Linked DNA regions of Homo sapiens: regions 2 and 3 are each linked to region 1. The links are contacts of gene promoters, found by promoter capture Hi-C in human tissues and cell types (Jung and others, 2019). All regions are on one chromosome and are shown on one strand. Each heading gives the region's core, a stretch centred on a gene start or on the middle of the fragment in contact. The rest is flanking DNA. Distances are from core to core; before and after follow the strand shown. Region 1 overlaps EP300-AS1 (EP300 antisense RNA 1). Region 2 holds the start of ACO2 (aconitase 2). Region 3 holds the start of CSDC2 (cold shock domain containing C2).

Region 1 (2,700 bases), core at 45-2,544:
CGTGCCTGGCCTTTTTTTTTTTTTTTTTTTTGATACTGAGTCATGCTCTTGTCACCCAGGCTGGAGTACAATGGCGCGATATTGGCTCACTGCAACCTTTGCCTCCCGGGTTTAAGCAATTCTGCTGCCTCAGTTTCCTGAGTAGCTGGGATTACAGGCACCTGCCACTGTGCCTGGCTAATTTTTTTTTTTTTTTTAGTTGAGACAGGGGTTTCACCATGTTAGCCAGGCTGGTCTCAAACTCCTGACCTCAGGTGATCTGCCCGCCTCAGCTTCCCAAAATGCTGGGATTACAGGCATGAGCCACTGTGCCCGGCCGAAATTTTTAAGTATAGTCTAGATACAGAAATATGTGATCTGCAAATATATGCTCCCATTCTGTATATCTTTTTACTTCTTTGGTCATGTCCTCTGATGCATGAAAGTTTTGAGGTCTAATTTGTTTTTTCTTTGGTTGCTTGTGCTTTTTAGGTGTTATATCTAAGAAACCATTGCCTATTCCAAGATCATGAAAATTTATAACTATATTTTCTTTTTTTTTCTTTCTTTCTTAGATGGAGTTTCACTCTTGTCACCCAGGCTGGAGTGCAATAGAGCGATCATGGCTCACTGCAACCTCTGCCCCCCGGGTTCAAGCGATTCTCCTGCCTCAGCCTCTCAAGTAGCTGGGATTACAAGTGCCCACCACCACGCCCAGCTAATTTTTGTATTTTTAGTAAAGATGGGGTTTCACCACATTGGCCAGGCTGGTCTCTAACTCCTGACCTCACGTGATTCATCCATCTCAGCCTCCCAAAGTGCTGGGATTACAGGCATGAGCCACTGTGCCTGGCCTATACTTATATTTTCTTCTGTGATTTTAATATTTTAGTGTTTATGTTTTGGTCTATGATCCATTTTGAGTAAATTTTTATATTTGGTATAAGGTAGGGGTCCAACTTTATTTATTTTTGAGATGGAGGCTTACTCTATTGCCCAGGCAGGCATGCAATGGTGCGATCCAGCTCACTGCAACCTCTGTGTCCCAGGCTCAAGTGATTCTCCCACCTCAGCCATCTGAGTAGCTCGGATTACAGGCCCCATCACTATGGTAATTTTTAAATTTTTAGTAGAGACGGGGTTTCACCATGTTGGCCAGGCTGGTCTCGAACTCATGACCTCAAGTGATCTGCCCGCCTCTGCCCTACAAAGTGCTGGGATTACAGGCGTGAGCCACCGTGCCTGGCCTCCAGCTTTATTCTTTTTTTTTTTTTTTTTTTGAGACAGAGTCTTGTTCTGTCACCCAGGCTGGAGTGCTGGAGTGCAGTGGCGCGATCTCGGCTCACTGCAAGCTCCGCCTCCTGGGTTCACGCCATTCTCCTGCCTCAGCCTCCCGAGTAGCTGGGACTACAGGCGCCTGCCACCACGCCTGGCTAATTTTTTGTATTTTTAGTAGAGATGGGGTTTCTCCATGTTAGCCAGGATGGTCTCGATCTCCTGACCTCGTGGTCTGCCTGCCTCGGCCTCCCAAAAGTGCTGGGATTACAGGCGTGAGCGACCATGCCCGGCCAACTTTATTCTTTTAGATGTGGATGTCTAGTTGTTCCAGAAGTATCTGTTAAAAATGTTACTCTTTCTCCATTGGATTATTTTGGCAACCTTATAAACAATCAATTGACCATAAATGTATGGATTTATTTCTGGATTGTCAGATCTATTCCAGTGATCTAAATGTCTGTCCTTATGCCAGTACCATAGAGTCTTGATTACTATAGCTTCATGGTAAGTTTTCAAATCAAGAAGTGTGAGTGCTCCAAATTTGTTTTTATTTTTCAAGATTATTTTGGCTGTTCTGGCTTCTTTGGATTTTCATATGTATTTTAGGGTCAGCCTTTCAGCTGGGCATGGTGGCTCACGCTTGTAATCCCAGCACTTTGGGAGGAGTTCAAGATTAGCATGACAAAATCCCATCTCTACAAAACAAAAAACAAAACAAAAGAAACATTAGCCAGGCTTGGTGGCATGTGCCTGTGGTCCCAGCTACTCAGGAAGCTGAGTAGCTTCCCGAGGCAGGAAGATCACTTGAGACCAGGAGGTGGAGGTTTCAGTGAGCTGAGATCGTGCCACTGTACTCCAGCCTGGGTAATGGAGACAGACCCTGTCTGAAAACAAAAAAATTTTTTAAATAGGCTTTTGTTTTTTATTTTATTTAATTTTTGACACAGGGTCCACTCTGTAGCTCAGGCTGGAGTGCAGTCGTGTGATCTCAGCTCCCTGCATCCTCCGCCTTTTGGGTTCAAGCAGTCCTCCCGTCTCAGCCTCCCGAGTAGCTGGGACTTACAGGCGTGTGTCACCACACCCAGCTAATTTTTGTATTTTTAGTAGAGGTGACCATATTGGCCAGGCTGGTCTTGAACTGACTTCAGGTGATCTTCCTGCCTCAGCCTCCCAAACCCAAAGTGCTGGGATTACAGGTGTGAGCCACTGTGCTCAGCCTGTTAATTTTTTTTTTTTTTTTTTTTTTGAGACGGAGTCTCACTCTGTCACCTAGGTTGGAATGCAGTGGTGCCATCTTGGCCTCACTGCAACCTCCACCTCCCAGGTCCAAGGGATTCTCCTGCCTCAGCCTCCCAAGTAGCTGGGGTTACAGGCACGTGCCACCATGCCTGGCTAATCTTTTGTATTTTTAGTAGAGATGGGGTTTCACCGTGTTAGCCAGGA
Region 2 (2,700 bases), core at 42-2,541, 280 kb before region 1:
GATGAAAAATAAGTTCAAGTTTAAATTTAAGCAATGTGATGAAAAATAAGTTCAAGTACCACAAGCTTCCTGAGAGTACAACGCATAACAACTCGTAAAATTCTATTATCAAAGTTGCGCCACTTGATCCAAAAGGAATTCACAAAGTTAAATGTGAAAGGTTGACAGAGAATGTCTACAGATGCTTGCTTGATTTTTATTAACAAAGTACACATTTGACATTGAACCTCTGAGTATAACACCTTCCCAGGGCTGTCAAGTTAGAAGTGAAAAAATCATCTGGCAGTCAGTCAGCTTTCTAGATAGCTCCTAACAGGGGAGTCAAGGTCAAACTGGAGTCTCCTTATCCTCCCATATTTGACAAGCAACTTATTGTGAGGCTCAAAATATTCGTACTGCATTCTGACAAACAGAAATAATTGCACCGTGGTTCATAAAGTTCTGTGAGGGCAGGCTGACATAAACAAGAACTGAGTGGTGGTAGGGCCCATGCTTCTGCCACAGCACTTCGGTGACACTCTTGAGAATCAGAACTTTCACCTACTTTCTACCAGCTTTATCATCTATCAAATGAGAAAAACCACCTCATTCCTACGATTACAGGAATCAAATAATATTATGAAGAATTAAAACAGGCCTCAAATCTTGTGCAAAGGTGAGAGACTATTATTATATTATTTACTACGTATGGGCCCAGAAGACCGCCCCCCTCCCCGACATTCCACGTTCCGCAGGGTCCTCAAAAGGTGGTACAGGGTCCTAGTTTCTTCTCCAGACTCCAGGCCTGGCAACCGTAGATGCTGTCATGCCTCTGTTGCTAAGAGATGGGAAGTGAGGCCTCAGGAACTGGGCCTAGAAGACTCAACAACGACCGCGCCCCCTAGTCACCTTGTCCTCACCTTGAGGAATGGAAACACACCCCACGGGAGCAGGCAATGCTGTCCTCAAAAAGAAGAAAGAGGTGCCTCCGCTCTTCACCCGGCCGCCGCTGCTTGGGCCCACGCTTCTTGCGAGGCAGGGACAGGGCCAGGAAAGCTGACTGTGCCGGGGACGCCTTGACCTAGGGCACCAGAGAAGCGGGCACGGGTGCCGGGCCCACAACCGGGACAGGTACACGAGAAGTTGGCCCCAGGTTGGGCCCGCCTCGCCCTGCCTCGCCCACAGCCGCCGGCACAGTAGGAGGCACCCCGCCCCCGTGAACCCAGAGGTCCCTGAGCTCGCTCACCTGCAGCCGAGTCACCAGTAGGCTGTAGGGCGCCATTTTGTGCACTGACAAAGATGAGGTCGCATTAAAGTGACGTCCCACACGGCGCCTTTAAAGCCTTTGGGCAGGGGCGTGCCCGGAAGAGTGGGGCGTCACGGTGAAGGCGAGGCCTCCCTAGAGGCGCCAGAACCCTGTGAACGCAATGGGCGGAGCTCACGTGCAACGAACAGACACGCAAGAGGAAATCGGACTGCCCAAAGACACTTGCAGAAATAGATACCAAGCACAAAGATGTTTTACCCAAGAACAAATTTTAGTTATCTCCGCCATCCAAATCTGGGAGAGTTTTTAAGAGTTTCATGCACCTGCCAGGACCTGGCCGCCCAGCAGCGACAAAAACTCGCGCGAGAGCAAGACGGGCCTGGTGCAAGGATTGTAAACTGACGGAAGCTTAGAGAACCAATCACAGCGACGTGGAGGCAGGAACAATGGGGGTTAAAGGTCGGACGGAAGTTCCCGAAGCTTCCGGTGGCCGGCTTAGTTAGGAGCTATGGCTAAACATCATCCTGATTTGATCTTTTGCCGCAAGCAGGCTGGTGTTGGTGAGACTGCGCCCTACCCCTGGCTGTCTGGGCAGGGGTGGTATTAGGAGCTGGGGGGTCGGGGGTTCCCGTCTCTTCCTTAGGGGCTTGCCTCGCAGGCGCCACGTTTCCCGCCTCTCAGGCGCGGGGTGTTGTAGGAGCGCGCAGGTTTGTGGCCTCTGATGAGAAGAGGGCGGGGGTGCGCGTGCTGGGAGCCCCAGGCAGGTATCGGGGGGTGGGGTCTGAACCAGGTCCAGAGAAACTCTGAGCTTGCCCAGGGCGTTGGAGGAGATTCAGGAGGGTGCTTGGATGTAGGTTTGGTTCATATGGAAATTTGTAATGATAAAATGGCTATCCGCAGGTCTCACTCACTGCAGTCCTTACTCATGTCCCTACCCCCAGCTCGAGGATGTACTTCTCCTCTTTCTCAAAACCTTTATTCTAATTGTACTTTTTACCATCTTTCATCTTGCAGCCATCGGAAGACTGTGTGAAAAATGTGAGTGGAACACACCGTCCCAACAACCCACCCTTCCCACTCCCAGTTTTCTGTGGAACCAGCAAAAGTGCCACAAAGAGGGCTTTGAGTAGATGTGCCTGGAAGTATGTGAACACTGAATGCTGCACTTTAGCCAAAGGCCCCTCTAACTCCCCACTGCCGCTTGCACATTTAACGCTGTATCTCTCTAGTTTTCAACGGGAAGAATCGCCAGAGTAGCATGACCCCTCCCCAACACACAGCACTTTGCCAGCAATTATACAGGCTTATCATCTCCGAGGTGCTTTTCTAAGCTCTTCACATATGTTAATTGGTAAACTTTTGTATGTGTTGAGGGGCTTGAGATGGACACTGGGGAAACCAAGTTTTGTGATGCCAAGAGGAGGGCCCTAAAGTCACTGTCAAAAGGAGACTAG
Region 3 (2,700 bases), core at 100-2,599, 380 kb before region 1:
TTTTGGAGAAGACTTCAAGGAAATGGGGGGCGGCAGGGCAAAGCTGGGAGGAGGAAACATTCAGAATTTGGAGGGTCCAGAGGACTCTGGGATGGAGTCAGGTTTGGGAAACCAGTTCCCCATCCCCCAGAAAGCTGGAGACCCCCTTTCCCAGGGAGAGGCCCCTGCCGGATCACAGCCAGGCAGCATGATGCCAGGCTCTCAGAGAGGTTGCCCACCCCCCACTGGGCATACTTCCTCCTCTCCTACCCCAGCCCCAGTGGATGCAGCAGTTCACACTCTGTATTTATTATTGTTCTCGCTCTGTGTCCCCCTCCCCTCTCCCTGGGAAGAGCCTGCAGGCTGGCAGCTTGGCAGGAACCTGCTGTCTCCTTGTGGGTGCCAGCGTCGCCCCTTATCTCCGCCTGGACTCCTTGTGCCAGGGTCAGGCCATTCATGGGCTTGGCACCAGCCAAGGCCACCCTAAGTCCCTGTATCCCAAGATAGAGGCCTGGCAGGCCCTGACTTATCACCCCTGCCCTCCGGGGGCTGTGCCCTGGCAAGGGTGGAGGTCAGAGCAGACCAGCAGGCAGGCAAGAAGCAAGGGCTCGGGGTGGGGTGGTACCTGGGGGAAGAGAATAACCACACGGAGCCACCTCTCTAAGCCAACTAACACAATTATCCCCATCACACTGGGGAAAAAATAGAGTCAGGATAAGACAGCTGCTCCAGGTCCAACTGTCTGCCTTTCCCAGCCGGTCCCTTCCCAGCCCAACATTCCAGGGGAAGGACCAGCAAGGGTCCCTGCTGCACTCTGCTTTCAGCAACTGGAAGCGGCACTGGGGTTTCTCTGGTCAAGGCGGTCCTCTCTCCCGCTGCTTCCCAGACAGGAGGCTGCGGCTTGGCAGGTATCTGCTGCTCTCTGCCTCCTGAGCCAGACGCAGGTCCCAGACACAGACACAGACACAGACACAGACATGCTCCCACGGGAGCCACACGGCCTCACCTCATTTGGGGGTCACGGGGAGAGAATGAGGGAGGGAGAGACAGGTGGTATCCTCTATACCCCCAACACCCTATCTGTAAGCTGAACTGGGCTGATCCAGCCCCCACCTTCACGTTGTACCTCTCTCCTTCGGCCTGGCCAAAGCCACAGTTTCTGGCACAGTGTCCTCAGGCCCCATCTAGCCCCTCACCTCTCCTGGGCAGCTGGGGTCCAGGCACTGCCTCCTGCGGCGTCCGCGCTCTGTCTCTCTCTGGCTCGTGGAGCTGGCAGGCAGGGGATGGGTCTGGAAGATGTGTGTGTGTGTGTGTGTGTGTGTGTGTGTGTGTGTCTGTGTGTGCTCGCGCGGGCGGTACCTCAGCCCCTCACTCACTCACACGCCTTCCAGCTGACGTCAGGGAGAGCAGGAGGGAGGGATGAGAATTTGTACTCCCTGCTTAAAGGGACACCAGGCTCTGTGGCTCATGGCCCAGACATCACCTCCTGAGTCAGGCACTGCCAGGTGAGAGGCTCAGCTGCGTCTCTCGGGGGCCTTAAAGCTTCTTTTTTTGGAAAGTGGCTTTTATGGTCGGGCCACGGTATAATTTGCCCTGCCCAGTGAGGGCAGCTGCTGAGGAATGCAGGGGAGGAAGAACCTGAGACAGCGCCACGTTCCTGGTAATTAGAGAGCAAGTGGGGTGGTGAGTTTGAGTGTGAGTGTGTGAGTGCACACTGGGGGGCCCCTCGGGGTGGGTGGGCATGAGTGGGGGTGAGTCTGGGAGAATGGAGGTCAGAGCCAAGAGGAGCCCCCCAGAGGGGTCGAGACAAGCCAGGTTCCCAGGGACACCCAGACACTCGTCTCCCCTCCGGACGCTCAGTGGTCCTGCCCTCTGCTAGTACAGACACTGACACGGCTCATCTCTGTCTACCCCTTGTAATATTTCCATGGAATTGAATTGACGAGGACCCCAAGGAAGTGATCGGCTTGAAGGTGCACAGGTGAACACCCCACAGCCTGGGAGGCTCTGAGTAGAGAAGTAGAGAGGGCTGATTGAATTCAGGCACCCAGCCTGTTCTACACCACACGCCCTGGCTTCGAAGTGCTCCGCACTGTCAAGCTGTGTGACCTTGGGCCAGCCCCTGAGGGCCTTTGGAGGTTGAGTGTGTGATGTTCCTAAACCCAGGGCCAGCTGGAGGAGGCCTCCACAAAGGTGCTTCTCTTCGTTCTTCCCATTCCTTCTCAGCCTCAGCTTGGAAAGAAGGAAGCCTTTCCCTGGTGTCTCCTGGTACTACTGAGGCAGGCTGGCATTTTCAAAAGGAGTCTTTTTAAAATAAAAAGGAGGTGGGAGTTAAAAGGGAAACCGCAGAGAAAAATACAAGTAACTAATACAAATAGCTAAGACGCCACAAGAGCTTGCTCTGTTTCAGGCAGCAAGCTTTGCCCTCATTGAAACCTCACAACAATTTAATAATTTATTTTTATCATCCCTACTTTACCGGTGAGGAATTAGAGGCTCAGGGAGGAGGAAGGACTTGACTTGCCTATATTCTTCCAACTGGCTAGAGAGGTACTGGAACCCAGGAGCACCCAGTGTCACCACACGCCCCTGCCCTTCCAGAACCTCTCAGGACAATCAGGCTCAGACAGTCTGGGTTTCTGGTTCTGCAGGAGAGACTGTTGAGAAATGCTGCCTGTGGTTACCTGGGGATGTTCTGAATTATTATTATTTTTTTTAGAG

What was found. The method cuts DNA at HindIII sites, captures the fragments that hold promoters and counts their contacts. A contact is called where the count stands out against the background at its distance.
Region 2: a contact is called between the fragment with the promoter of ACO2 here and a fragment that was not itself captured in region 1, in 1 of the 25 tissues and cell types used here (IMR-90 fibroblasts).
Region 3: the fragment with the promoter of CSDC2 here is called in contact with a fragment that was not itself captured in region 1 in 1 of the 25 tissues and cell types used here (heart left ventricle).

Annotation. Positions count from the first base shown.
Region 1 is chr22:41,184,178-41,186,877 of GRCh38, reverse strand. EP300-AS1 (EP300 antisense RNA 1) reads left to right here. Exons shown (of 3, transcript NR_110514.1): 3 at 555-1,664. Among named protein-coding and RNA genes, the nearest start is that of EP300-AS1, 12 kb to the left of the region's middle. RefSeq lists an enhancer at 1,580-2,379. The HindIII fragment of the contact is 8,621 bases long and covers 1-2,700 here.
Region 2 is chr22:41,467,708-41,470,407 of GRCh38, reverse strand. It overlaps ACO2 (aconitase 2), which reads right to left and starts at 1,291. Exons shown (of 18, transcript NM_001098.3): 1 at 1,226-1,291. The coding sequence starts at 1,261. PHF5A (PHD finger protein 5A) reads left to right here and starts at 1,716. Exons shown (of 4, transcript NM_032758.4): 1 at 1,716-1,806; 2 at 2,261-2,284. The coding sequence starts at 1,755. RefSeq lists enhancers at 624-1,185, 1,186-1,747, 1,317-1,986. The HindIII fragment of the contact is 2,873 bases long and covers 861-2,700 here.
Region 3 is chr22:41,559,659-41,562,358 of GRCh38, reverse strand. It overlaps CSDC2 (cold shock domain containing C2), which reads right to left and starts at 1,349. Exons shown (of 4, transcript NM_014460.4): 1 at 1,176-1,349. It overlaps LOC105373044 (a long non-coding RNA gene), which reads left to right and starts at 1,476. Exons shown (of 2, transcript NR_134631.1): 1 at 1,476-1,639. The HindIII fragment of the contact is 6,219 bases long and covers 182-2,700 here.